5 separate regions of the Homo sapiens genome follow, and all the other regions are linked to region 1. The links are contacts of gene promoters, found by promoter capture Hi-C in blood cells and fetal thymus (Javierre and others, 2016). All regions are on one chromosome and are shown on one strand. The core of a region is centred on a gene start or on the middle of the fragment in contact, and the rest is flanking DNA. Distances in the headings are between cores, read along the strand shown.

Region 1 (2,700 bases), core at 106-2,605:
TTCCTGGCCTCCATGTCAGACCTAATGAATCCAAATCTCTCGGCACGTGGGTTTTGATTACTTTTTATTTTTAAGCTCCTCAGCAATGATGGATAGCTTTCTCCCCCCCCCCCCAAAAAAAATGTTTCAGGAATAGGATTATGTTTCTTTTAAGAAAAAATAATTTAAGCAAGTTTTGTAAAAAGCATCAAAGGCTATACCTATGATGCTGACAATATTTCACCTCACTTATCTGCTTCTTTCCCAAGACTTAGTCTTTCTCTTTGAAGGAGCTGTGTTCCTCCTAGTGGTTCTGATCTTTTTCATTGCAGCTGCAGGTACAAACGAGGGATTGAGGTGACCACCCTTCAACCTGCAGCTCTTCAGTCAACAAAAATCAAGTACCTATCAGAGTGCACCCTGCCCTGCAGCACATATTCAAGGCTTTCCCTACAAAAACAAAGGTGTTTAACCGAAGGGATTGATGGTAGAATAAAGAGAGCTGGGCGCGGTGGCTCATGCCTGTAATCCCAGCACTTTGGGAGGCGAGGTGGGCGGATCGCTTGACCCCAGGAATTCGAGACCAGCTTGGGCAACATAGTGGGACACTATCTCTACGGAAGGAGGGAAGTAGGGAAGGAAGGAAGGAAGCAAGGAGGGAAGGAGGGACGGAGGGAAGGAGGGAAGGAAGGAAGGAAAAAGAAAAGAAAGGAAAGAAAGAAAGGAAAGAAAGAAAGAGAAAGATTGATTTTAAAAAAGAGTTAAAAGGGGAAAAATACAATGTGGCAGTGGGAGAATTAAGGATGAGATGATTGCATTAGTTCATTGACCATCCCTGAGCAACAGAAACACAATCATGGGTAATCCTCGGCCCCTGCCTACAAGAAGCATGGGTCTAGTTTAGTAGCACTGCCAACTGGACCGACCATTTACACTTCTGTGTGAAATGGGGCAGAGGGGGGAGAAAAGAGTGCCTGAGCTCACAGCGTTGGCGGGGCGCAGTGAGGTCCGCCAGGACTAGGTGGAAGGAGAGAAGGAACGTCCCTCTCTGCAACTCATCTAAGGGCCTGCTCGGACCCCGGATCTCACAGCGAGAACTACCGCCTCGCTACACCCGCCTTTCCCCGCGCCACCCAACAGCTCCCACGTCTCATCCTCCGGGAGCGGGGCGGGGCGAAGCGGAAGAGGAGGGGCCGACACAACCACGCCCACTAGCCGCGCTCCAAGGCCGCGGCCCACTTACCGCGAGAACGCGGAGTCCTGCGGATGGCGCACGCGCAAACCTCCTGTGATGCCTGCGCCTCCTGGCCCCGCCTTCCGCTCGTGGGAGTTCCGGATGTTTAGCGTTACCATGGATCCTGGAGGTGCCCGCGAACACTGCTTGTCGCCTGGGCAACCGGAGAGGACGAAGCAGGACCTAGGTGGCGGCGGTGGTACCGGCTGCAATGGTGTCCAATCCCGTGCATGGCTTGCCCTTTCTTCCGGGCACGTCCTTTAAGGACTCTACGGTGAGCAGTTATCTGCCAGACTCCCACCTGTCCCCACCTTCCAGCAGCCCAGGAGGTTTCCCCGCTCAGTGCACCTCCATTCCCCTCCACTCAAGTCTGTCTTCTCTCCAAACACGTCTTCTGTCCTGACCCTGTTCTTTATTCTGGGCCGAACTTCTGCCGTTCTTCCCTAGCCATCCTCATCCCCTCTCTCCGATCCTTTGCCCTCCGCCTCATCCCTCTCTAGTTTTTTCCCACTCCATCTTGGCAGTGTGTTGGCGCCTTCATTCTCATCCCGTTAGCCGCGTTCTTTCTTACGGCCCTGCTCCTCCAAGCCCCTGCCTCTTGTCCCTTTAGATCACTGTTTCCCCCACCCTACTCCCAACCTATCTCTGGGCCCTCTCCCTAGCTCGTTCTCTCACATCATAACCTGTCTCCGTCCATCGCCGCCCTTAAAACCCCCCGCCACTATGCACCTTCAACCTCATTCCCACAGGTCCGTCATTCCCGCCCCACCTCTTCCTCTTCTGAATCCTGTACCCGGTAGTATCTCCCACTCCCAGCTCCATTTCCTGTTTTGTATGTATATCGATTCCGCTCCTCTTCTTTCCGCCAGGTCTTTTTCCTTTCTTCTTTATGCTTGCATCCAACCCCATTCTTTTTTCTCCATCTTCTACATTTTCCACAATTTAGTCCCATCCTCTCCCCATTCCTTTCTTTCTCCGTTGCGGGTTTTCCCCAAAACTTGCTCACCTTCCTCCCAAAGCATCTTTCCCTGCTTTGTAAGAGATATTCCTTTCCAGTTCCCTCAAGAATTGATTAGTTGCTGTTTATTCTTCCCCGGCCCTGTTCTTTTTATTCTAACGTTTTTGTAAAAAGATTCCTGTTTAGATTTTGTTTTGCTCCTTCCCCAACCTTGTGTTTTTATTTGCATTTTCTAGACAAAATTTTTTAAAAAGTAGCAGCAGCTTGGATTCTTTTTTTTTTTTAAACTCTTGCCACAGTTTAGCTCTTAAAATTATTTGGTTTGTTTTAATTCTGACAGGGCTACTGAAATGTATGTGCTGAAAAATCAATAATGAGATTCAGTAGACTGATCATCATAGATGAGCTAACAGTAGTTTATGTTTATATAGTTTAATACTTTAAACTCTTGCCTTCCTCTCCAGCTTCACAAAGTTAAAATATTTTGTCAATTTATTTTCTTTGGAAGAATCAATTTAGAATGAAATCG
Region 2 (2,700 bases), core at 160-2,659, 580 kb after region 1:
CCTGATAGGTACAGTTACAGGTATATCATTTCTGTTGGTGTCTTACATTACATTTCATAATTGTATAGTAACAAAAAATAGAGGTAACAAGTAGCATTTTGTTTTCATGTAACAAGAAATGGCTGCAGGTTCTCAGTCAGAACAGAAACAGAGAGACAAAAGAAATGGTTACTATTCCCTTCTATAGTGCATAGGTTTTTTTACACAATTTGTCCTTTACCCATTTCAGAGAAGGGGAGGAAGAGTAATTCACAGCATTTGCTAGTTAAAATTTGTTTTTTCAGTCCTCTAGTTTTCTCAACTGCACATCAGCTACTTGATTTTTTTTATGAATATGTGTTTGGCTTCCCCAGGGAAGTTGCTTGCTGGTAAACAAACGAAAGCATAAAAAGAAAAAAGCGAAGTATTTTCTGAAGTTGGGCCCTATAAAGTATTAGAAAAACAATTTTATAATGTGCAATAATCAGGTAACTAGGTTTTTCAGTTAAAAAATGTAATGACCTTATATAAGCTAGATTACTGAGACTATGGTATTAAACAATCCATTTGCTCCTCTAAGGAATATTTACAATTTAAAACCTGCTTTCCAGCAAGCTGGGCCAGGTTTCACATTAATTTACTTTTCATATATAATACAGAAAATGAAAATAAATATTAACCTTATAGTAAAGGACTCATCTCTGAAAACACATGTTCTGATGCTTTAGATAACGAGTTGAGAATATAATACAGAAATGAATTCAGCTTCAAGTTGTGCTTGCATATATATTTTCTGAAGCTTTGCTGCCAGCTTGTTAACAGGAAAAGACCACCTATCACATCCACATCCATTATGTGCTTTTCTCATGCCCCTAGGGATCATGGTGCTTGGTCAAGTATATATTTGAGTCAAATTCTCCAAAGCATAAATTACTCTCCGATTTTAGGTTAGGGCCCTTTGGAAGCCATGGTTATTTGTTCAGAATGCAACATATTATTAATACACCAAGGCAATAATTTACCAAGTCATTAGGTTGAACCATATGAAAGTGTCTATATTCATTTCACCTATCATTTTAACCTATAAAAATGATCACTTGGCTGGGTGCAGTGGCTCATGCCTGTAATCCCAGTACTTTGGGAGGTGGAGGAGGGTGGATCACGAGGTCAGGAGATCGAGGCCGTCCTGGCTAACACAGTGAAACCCCGTCTCTACTAAAAATACAAAAAATTAGCTGGGCGTGGTGGCGGGCGCCTGTAGTCCCAGTTACTCAGGAGGCTTGAACCTGGGAGGCAGAGGTTGCAGAGAGCTAAGATCGCGCCACTGCACTCCAGCCTGGGTGACAGAGTGAGACTCTGTCTCAAAAAAAAAATAAAAAATAAAAGATTACTTACATATGGTTCAATTTGTCATTATCCTGGAACCAATAGAGAGTAGTTTGAGCCCTAGGAGAATATGAATCAATACACTGTTGAGATTGCATTGCGTTCACTGATGGTGACCTTCCCTCTTGCCTTTAAGGCAACCATAAGTGAGGCAAATGTACCATATAGAGATGGATGAGACTGGACCTTTTGTCTTTTTCTGTCTCCAAACTGACTTTGTCATTTTTGAAACTGCTGTAAACATTCCTCTCAATGGAACAGCCTCTGCCCAACAAATAAAGTTCTCACTCTTGAAAGAAACTACACCAGGGTTAGGAGATCAAATGTGGCATGTGACTGTGACTTTGTAGATGAGTGGAACCTCTGCCATAACTCTTTCTGCTCCCCAAATTGTCCTGAGAATTTGGCTAGGACAGAACATTAGTCATTGACTGCTCCTAGCCAGATCTGGAGAACTGAGCTAGGCACAAAATTCCATCTCAGTTACTATAATCAAAAACCTTCTGCTGCTTTGATACTTAGTTTTTTGGCCATGCATCTTGGCAGGAATGTAAGTTTGATTGACTGTGTTAACCTTCATGTTGAGAGCCTTTTGAAGCAGAAATCTCTTTTATTGGTACACATACAACTTGATTTCAAAAATGGAATAAATTAGAATATAATGGCATAGTATAATTAAGCTTGGTTTCATCTGAGATCTGCAACCACATTAAAGGGTGTCAGAAAAATTTTTTAAAATGTATTTACTTAGAGTTCTTTCATCTGGGGAACAAAAGTAAAACAAAGTGAATTATATAATATAATAGTCCTTTTAGAACAGCAGAGTGGTATCCAAAAATCAAACCAATGACCTACTAAGAAAAGCAGAGGATCACTTTTCTAACAACAGTCCAAGAAGGCCTGAAGTACCTAGTGAGCCACACTTGAAATTTCACCACTTCATAAATATCTGCACACACTGAGTAAATAACCCTCTATCACATAGCCTTAAATTGCACCCCTGTTGCAATACTGCATTAATATTATTACATTTTTCAAAATCTGTAGAAAATATTATCTGGAACCCCAAAGGAAAATCAATTAATTTTTAAAAAGTTCATTACAAAGTTGACTGTATAAAATGCTAAAACATAATCCATATATACAAAATGCTGTTGTTTAAGAAAATAATGGGACCCAGTTTTAGAATAAAATAATTTTATACAAAAAAGCCTACTGCATTCAAATCAATATTTTAAAAAAAAACTTTAAAAAAGAATATTGACATGTCTTAGTTCAGAAGAATAACTATAAAGTGTTGATTTGCTTTTATGCCCTCTGCACATCTTGCAGGTA
Region 3 (2,700 bases), core at 147-2,646, 630 kb after region 1:
CACCTGGGGTCCTTAGCCCTTCACGGTAATAAGAAGTGGAAGAAATGTCCGTACCTCTTCAGGCTGGGCGTGTGCTCTGCAGCTCACCACAGTCCCCATTTTTTGCCTGTTGCCACTTGCCATTTTTTTTTTTTAGCTGTCATTTTTTTGTGTGCCTTCATAGCCACTTGTTTTACTGGATGAAAAATATTTCTCTGTTCCTATGCCTATAACAAAAGTGACAAAGTAAAAGCCTGAAAAAAAAAAAAACCTTATACTTAAAGAAAAATTGGAAGAGAAGAAAAATTGTTCTTTTTTAGAAGAGAAGAGCAATTTCTTACTGTTTGACAAGCACACACCCAGCTTCCTTGAGTCTTTTATTTTCCTCCTCTGCCCTGACAGCATTTAAATTCAGCTTCTGGTACAGATAGTTAACACTGCTTGAGAAGTGAATGGAATGTAGCAGCCTGTCCATTACCTTGAGAATTAGCATGTATTTCTAACTCGCAGTATTTCTAAATTCTGCTTTGACTCCAAGAATTAACTTGGATAAATCATTCACTACAACGAATCTACACTTAGCACCCTCATATATCAAATATGCCCAAAACATGATAATTTTAGTACTTAGTATGTGCATAGTACTATTATAAGTGCTTATGCATATATTAGTACATTTAACCCTCATAATTCTACCAGGCAGGTACTATTACAATTATCCCTATTTTACAGAGAAGGAAACTGAGACACAAGTTACATGTCTAGATTATACGACTAATGTGGCAGAAATGAGACAGGAACCCAGGCTGACTGTACCAAACTTAAGGGAAAGCTTTCAAAAGATCATGAAATCTTTGGAGGATCTGAAAATGACAGGAACAGAAGTAGTACTTTGTATCTCAAAGCCCAAATATGAAAATGAATGATATGGCTATGTTCTAATTGTCTTCATTCTGCAATCAAATATCAGCGAATCCTCTGGAGCCATTGGCAGCACCAACATGCCCACAGTGGAGGCAAAGTGAGGGACTGGTTCCAGTTTCCACTCAGCACTGATCTGCTGTGCCTCGGGGCATCTCTTGGTCCTTGAGTTTACTTTTGGTGGAATTAGGGCATGGGACTTGCTCTAAGGTGGTTTCTTCCTCTAAAGCTGTGTGATTCTGTGACTCTGTATCAGGAATTGAGCTAGCATTTGTCTAAGAAAAAAAAAAGGATAAATGTTTCTGCTTTTTGCATCACATGAACAAAGGTTAGCGGAGAAGACAGTGCCACCGAAGGACCCTGTATGCTACACACCTTTCTTTCAAGAGATGCACAAGTGCCCCAGTGCCTCAGCCAGGCCCCAGTAAACATTAAACATCGATTCCTTCTCTTTCGAGCTCACATGTCACCTCTTCCAAGCCTCCTGCCCCAACCTACACATATAGACCCGAGAATGGTCCTCTCCCTTGATGCCATAGTGCCTTGTCCTCACCTCACTGCCAGCCCCTTCCCCGTGGCAATGACCTGCAGGTGTACCCTCTGCTTCAGCCTCGACACTCTCCAAGACTGCTTCATCTTTGTCTTCTCACTCCACTTGCAGTAGCAAGTCCTCAAAGATTGTTTGAAGGGCCCAAATGTGAGTTTTAGTCTTTGCTATTATTTTCTGTACCACCTTGGCTAAGTACCTCAAAATTCTCAGTGCTTCTATTTTGTCATACACAAAACAAAGATAAACTGTTGGGCCCAACTAAAAGTTCTGAAGTTCTGAAGTGGAAGAACAGTGAATACCACAGAATAGCTGGGGCAGGCAGGCAGCCTGGGCCCTCCCACAACAATGCCAAGATGACTGAGTCTCAGAGGATCACAGAAAGTCCCCCTCCATGCGGTCAGATCAGGCCTTTGGCCTTTGGGTAAGGCTGTACTCAACTACCAAAGAAAGACAGCTTTATCTCTCTTTCAAAGAGTTCCAGCAAACCTTTGAAGTCAATGTTATGATGTTCCTGGCTAGGTGACATTGGGGAAAAGCTTCCTGTGATTTGCCCCAATTCCCTCCCCTCAGCGTCAATCCTCGGTGGAGGCAAAGAACATTTGCTCATGGCCAGCAGCTCACATCAGGTGCCTTGCTCATTCACAGCCTAAAAAATGGAGGCGAGGGGCAGGGAAAATTGTAGTTCATTCTTTATTTTGAAACCTTAATCAATGAATTAATGCCATCATTACACATTTTCTAAGACAGGAGACAAAAAGTTACAGCAAACTTGGGGTTCTCTGGGAGTTGTGGTTTACCAGGCCCACTGACACCATTCAGTTCCTTAGAAGGAGCTTGTCTCCCTTTGCATTAATTATCTTACATTGAAAAGATTCTGTTACTTTCATTTATCCTCCTAGGAAAAGTGGATTATATGCAAAATCATTAGATGACCCTTCTCATGGTAATTCTGAGTTCCATTTTACCTTTACAGGTTTATAATTAGACTTCGTATTCTAGGTTTGAATGTGTCCTAACTTTACAAAAGTCAGTGAATACTGTTAATTTCTTTTAAAAAGGTACTAGAAATAGTATATCCGGGTTTATGTTTTTCTCCTGGACCTAATTCTTCTGCCTCTGTACATTTTAGCAAGCAAACCTTTTAAGCATTTTGCCTCTTGGACTACTGCTTTTTTTCTGCATAAGGAATAGCAGTTACAAAGCCAAAAGGACCTTCTTTACATGGATCTTGCTTTGTCTTTACCTTGACA
Region 4 (2,700 bases), core at 115-2,614, 660 kb after region 1:
AAGCTCATTTTTCTAGCACCATTCACTACACATTTGTGTATACTGGTAGATGATTTGTGAACCCTAAGATGTTTTCAAAGTAGGTATTTTCCTCTCTAAAGGTAGGCTGATAAGGCAAATCTGTTAGAAAACCCTTGGTAAGTAAGTACCTCAGATGACGTCTGTAGATTTGGTTTTTATCCAGTTAGAATAAATTAAGGTTAAAGAACATACTACGTTAAGATTTTTGAAACCATTTGAAAGCTTGCAGTAACTCATAAAATCTCTACTTTACAATAAAATTAGTTAAATCTCAACACCTGTATCCAAAAATTCTAATTCTTTCTGGATGATAATTACTGAAGCTTTTTTCTTTGAAAAACTTGATACAGTATTCCTTTGCAAGACAGGATAAATTCATCACATTTAAAAATGTATCACATGTTGAATAAGCTTTAGGTGACTTTTTGTAAAGCAAATTTGAAAATGCTATGAAAAATCAGTTTCTAAACTGTACGCTTGTAGACTGAGGCACTTAATTTATTCACCTCCCTTTTTTCAGCATTGAAGATAATGATGATGACAGCAAAATGGCAGATCTCTTGTCCTACTTCCAGCAGCAACTCACATTTCAGGAGTCTGTGCTTAAACTGTGTCAGCCTGAGCTTGAGAGCAGTCAGATTCACATATCAGGTGTGAATACTTGTTTTTCATAACTCAGTGAGAAATATCTTAACCTTAAAGATTTCCAAATTTATAAGGTCAGATAATTTGCCAGATAACTGCTGCTTTAGTTCAGAATATGGTGGAAGATCTAGTTATAATTATCATTTGCATATACTATTAAGCTGTTTTGTGTTTTGTTTTGTCTTGTTTTGTTTTTTGAAATGGAGACGTGCCCTGTCACCCAGGCTGGAGTGCAGTGGTGCAATCTCGGCTCACTGCAACCTCTGCCTCCTGGGTTCAAGCAATTCTGCTGCCTCAGCCTCCCAAGTGGCTGGGATTACAGGCGTGTGCCACCACACCCAGCTAAATTTTTGTATCTTCAGTAAAGACAGAGTTTCACCATGTTGGCCAGGCTGGTCTCGAACTCCTGACTTCATGATCTGCCCACCTTGGCCTCCCAAAGTGCTGGGATTACAGGCCTCTGAGGCACTGCGCCCAGCCCAGTAGTAAGCTGCTTTACAATCTGAAGCAGAACAGTTTGTAGTGCTGTTGTTTAAGGATGCCATACCTTTTTCAGTAAAGATCTAACAGGGTAAGTCTGAGTTGTTGAGGTAGCCCTAAGAAAACTGGAGGAATACTGGTATCATGAAGCATTTCAGCCATGTTGGACAATTGTCCTGAGACAGACTGAATGTTTAGGAATTAATGGATTTTTGTTCGGGCATGGTGGCTCACGCCTGCAATCTCAGCATTTTGGGAGGCTGAGTTGGGAGGATCACTTGAGGCCAGGAGTTCAAGATAAGCCTGGCCAACATGGTGAAACCCCACCTCTACTAAAAATACAAAAATTAGCTGGGCGTCGTGGCGCATGACTGTAGTCCCACCTACTTGGGAGGCTGAGGCACGAGAATTACTTGAACCCAGGAGGCAGAGGCTGCAGTGAGCTGAGATTGTATCACTGCACTCCAGCCTGGGCAACAGAGCAAGAACCTGTCACAAAAAAAAAAGAAATTCATGTATTTTTAATATGTTAAATATTGTTTGGTTCGGGGCTTTTTCAGAGGAGGACAATTAAAAGTTTTCAAGGAGATGAAAATAACTTTAGTGTTAATAGATGCAATATGGATCACACACACATAGATTATTTTCCTAAAACATTTATTTTAATATGTCTGGCAAAATAATCTTATGAGGGAAAAGAGTGCTTTATAAAAAGTAGCTTCAGATCTATACTGAAAAAACAAAGATATTTATGTCTTGATGTTAAGAACCATTATTATTATTGAGTAGCTAAATACATTCATGCTTTAGCTCTGAGCAATACAGAGGGTGTGATTATAAATTTCTAGGAAGGTATAAATGTACTGGGAATGTAGTTGTGACAATAGAATGACATAGAGGAGAGTCACTGAAGGATGATTTTCTTTTGCAGTGCTGCCAATGGAGGTCCTGATGTACATCTTCCGATGGGTGGTGTCTAGTGACTTGGACCTCAGATCATTGGAGCAGTTGTCGCTGGTGTGCAGAGGATTCTACATCTGTGCCAGGTACTAAGTTTTTGTTTTTGTTTTTTAAACAACTGAGGCAATGGTGAAAAGAAAGATGGTCCTTTGCCAATCCTGATAAAATTACTTGATTGGTGTTCTGAGTTAAAGCTTAGAATAAACAAGTTTTGCTAAGCTGTACTTAACTTTCTCAAATAACTTAGAATTTAAAGGCTAGAATATGCTAGGTTTCTAGGGTATAGAATAATATGTAGGACAGATGTAGTAACCCATACTACTACCATAGAGTTTACATGCTAGCTTAACTGATTTGGGAAAAAGAGTTATATTAGAAAAATATATTCAAGTCATTTTTACACTAACTGTAAACTCATTGTGGTAATGGTTTAGATTAAAACAGCACTAGCATTTTCTTATGGCTCATTAAAAGTTATTCTATATTTTGAAAATTTTGCTATGTGTGGGAAAGGACTCTATTCAATAAATGGTGCTGAGATAAGCGGCTAGCCATGTGCAGAAGATGGAAACTGGATCCTTTCCTTACACGACA
Region 5 (2,700 bases), core at 5-2,504, 560 kb after region 1:
CATCCACAGTCTTGCAACTATGCAGAATGTAATGTTTCCAAGCTGGTAATTTTCATCTGTAAAATGGAGATAGTGAAGCCCATCTCCTAGGGTTATTGGGGTGGGGTTGACGGGACAGATGAGCAAATGCATGTAAGTGCCTAGCAGACTGACTGGAATGAAGCTGGCACTCAACAAGTTGCAGATCCCTTCCTCTAATTTCCCTTCTCTGCTAAACAAGTAACTTTTTTAACAGTGCAAAAGAATACTTCAGGTGAAAAGTATCCTAAGTTCTGAATGAATAAAATCAAATTAAGGAAAGTCAATCTCTGTGTCTGCAAAAGTAAATGAAAAAAAAATTGAAAAAAAAATATAAACTATAACATAAATGATATGGTGGTTTATTGCCTTGTTGAAGATTTTTATTCTCATTTTCTGGGTGTACTTATTGAACTGGTGGTAATTGCTCTCATTAGTATATCAAAATATTTAATAGACTTGGCAAAAAATTGTTTTAAGTATGTGTGTTACTCTTTGGAGAGTTAGTGTATCTCTCTTGGCTTTTGATAACTTGGTCAAACATATAGCAATTTGGTCTGTATCCAGGCTGTTTCAGGGATTGGCAAGCTTTTTCCATAAAGGACCAGTCAGCAAATATTTTAAGTTCTGCAGGCCATATGGTCTCTATCAGATCTACTCAACTCTGCTGTAGAAAAACAAAAGTAACCTTGACATTGTGTAAATGAGTGGGCATGGCTTTGTACCAATGAAATTTATGAATACTAGAATTTGAATTTCATATAATTTTTATGTGTCATGAAATATTATTCCACAGATTTTTTTCAACCATTTAAAAATGTAAAAATTATTCTTAACTCACAAGCTGTATAAAAACAGGTGGCAGGCCAGGTTTGGCCCAGGAGTTACAGTCTGCACATTAGACTTGGAGATAAAAGGCTAAGGTTCTAGATAAAACTCAAGCATCCACTGCCTAAGCCAGCTTGGCTGCTGATTTCTTTATTCTGGGTCTCTACTTCCTCAAGTGAATATTGAAGTCATTAAATGAGTTTTTTTTTAAAGGCCCTTCTCTCCTTTAAAGTTCTATGATCAATCCTGCCAGAATAACCCTGAGGGATAATTTGAACCACACAAGTCTTTCCTTGGAATTCTCAGAAGGAGAATGGTAGGAATCCTTTGGGGTGATGTTTAGGGTGCTAACATCTCTCATTTGCTCTCAGAGCTCAGGCTTAGAATTTCCTAACTTGAGACCATACTATTTCTGAGAAAGGGAGTCATAGCCTGATGAATGAGACTGTTTTGATGTTTATCTCGCCCACTATTCCATCAGTAGATACATGTGAGTGTGAGACCACCTCATCTCTATGGTTATTTCTATGGAAAGTCCCCTGAGGCAAACTCCCTGTGCATGGAGTTTTTTCCAGGAGTGCAGTTATGGAACAAAATTAAGATGAAAATTTCTGAGCTGGGTGTGCTGGCACATGCCTATAGTCCCTGCTACTCAGGAGACTGAGGTGGGAGGATCTCTTGAGCCCAGGAGTTCAAGACCATTCTGGGCAACATAGTAAGATCCCACCTTAAAAAAAAAAAATTTTACACTTCAATGATCTTTCAACTTGAAGGATTTAAGGACCAGAAAAATAACTTTGGGTCCTTACTTTCATTTCATTTGCCAAACTAGAATCTTAAAAATATTACACATACACACACACACACACTCCCCAAAGCCAACCAAACAATAGACACTGAAGGAAGGCCCAAGAGTTCTAGGCCAATCTTCTAATACATAGTTTTATTTACCTGGAGGAAAGGAAATGCAGACAGGATATTAGGAATTTTCTCTTCTAGAGCTAAAATGGTTTGGAGTAAAATCACATCTGCAAGGCTCAGCTGATTACCAACAAGAAAGCTTTGTCCGTGACCCCTTAAAATCTGTAGGGAAATGGTGTGCATCAGTTACAATATTCCACATGGAGAGAGTGATGAGGCTATTGAATCAGTGCAGTATCTGAGAAGAGGTGAAACTATGACCTTGTCATTTCATGCTTTCATAAATAACATCAATTAAGAGAACGCACCCTATATCTGACAGAGAGAGTGAGAGAGAGGGGGAGAGAGAGAGAGAGAGAGCGAGAGAGAGAGAGAGAAAGTACAAAAAAGGTGTGGAAATGAAAGCATCCTTAAATATCTGCTGTGGATCTGAATGAGACATTGAAGTGGGGAAGGGAAAATTCCTTATTTCTGGATTTAGCATCTGGTGTTTTGAAAGGATATATCTACTCCAAAAATGTATCTACAGAAATGCATGCAGGAGGCTTGGGGAGGGGCAGGGTGATTTAAGAAATCTAAGTGATAGATCATCTTCAAGGGGCCCACTCTTATTTCCCAGTTCTGCTGCTAGAACATCAAGAGGTGTAGTCATAAACTCAACCCAATTATAAAATTAGACTTCCTCTTACATGTCCCAAAACAGAGAAAATGAAAAGCTTGAGTTCATCTTGACTCCCATTCTGAGGGTAACGTATAGGTGTGGGGCTTATAAGAATAGATTGTGATTAGGGAGAGGCAAGAAGCAGTAGTAGCAAAGGGGAGATCCCCTTCACAGTCAACTCTTGGATGCCCATGGGTGTCTGCATGTGCACAAGTGTGTGTGTCACAGGGACTCCGAACACAATTCCAGGTCAAATATAGCTACTGGAGCCA

What was found. The method cuts DNA at HindIII sites, captures the fragments that hold promoters and counts their contacts. A CHiCAGO score of 5 or more calls a contact.
Region 2: a contact is called between a fragment that was not itself captured here and the fragment with the promoter of EFHC1 in region 1, in 1 of 17 cell types (naive CD8 T cells). The highest score is 6.2, in naive CD8 T cells.
Region 3: a contact is called between a fragment that was not itself captured here and the fragment with the promoter of EFHC1 in region 1, in 6 of 17 cell types (total CD8 T cells, naive CD8 T cells, naive CD4 T cells and 3 more). The highest score is 6.4, in total CD8 T cells.
Region 4: a contact is called between a fragment that was not itself captured here and the fragment with the promoter of EFHC1 in region 1, in 2 of 17 cell types (total CD8 T cells and erythroblasts). The highest score is 6.7, in total CD8 T cells.
Region 5: a fragment that was not itself captured here is called in contact with the fragment with the promoter of EFHC1 in region 1 in 2 of 17 cell types (naive CD4 T cells and total B cells); the score reaches 6.5 in naive CD4 T cells.

The regions. Positions count from the first base shown.
Region 1 is chr6:52,418,987-52,421,686 of GRCh38, forward strand. EFHC1 (EF-hand domain containing 1) reads left to right here and starts at 1,356. Exons shown (of 11, transcript NM_018100.4): 1 at 1,356-1,487. The coding sequence starts at 1,425. LOC124901331 (a long non-coding RNA gene) reads right to left here and starts at 1,995. Exons shown (of 2, transcript XR_007059611.1): 1 at 1,223-1,995. RefSeq lists an enhancer at 1,325-1,916. The HindIII fragment of the contact is 6,560 bases long and covers 1-2,700 here.
Region 2 is chr6:53,002,380-53,005,079 of GRCh38, forward strand. CILK1 (ciliogenesis associated kinase 1) reads right to left here. Exons shown (of 14, transcript NM_014920.5): 14 at 1-2,700. Among named protein-coding and RNA genes, the nearest start is that of RN7SK, 8.1 kb to the left of the region's middle. The HindIII fragment of the contact is 1,267 bases long and covers 777-2,043 here.
Region 3 is chr6:53,052,817-53,055,516 of GRCh38, forward strand. The region is part of intron 1 of CILK1 (ciliogenesis associated kinase 1); the gene reads right to left. Among named protein-coding and RNA genes, the nearest start is that of CILK1, 7.7 kb to the right of the region's middle. The HindIII fragment of the contact is 1,175 bases long and covers 810-1,984 here.
Region 4 is chr6:53,080,427-53,083,126 of GRCh38, forward strand. It overlaps FBXO9 (F-box protein 9), which reads left to right. Exons shown (of 13, transcript NM_033480.3): 6 at 542-672; 7 at 2,078-2,192. Among named protein-coding and RNA genes, the nearest start is that of FBXO9, 16 kb to the left of the region's middle. The HindIII fragment of the contact is 1,868 bases long and covers 431-2,298 here.
Region 5 is chr6:52,980,777-52,983,476 of GRCh38, forward strand. GSTA4 (glutathione S-transferase alpha 4) reads right to left here. Exons shown (of 7, transcript NM_001512.4): 6 at 1,798-1,929. Among named protein-coding and RNA genes, the nearest start is that of GSTA4, 13 kb to the right of the region's middle. The HindIII fragment of the contact is 1,300 bases long and covers 605-1,904 here.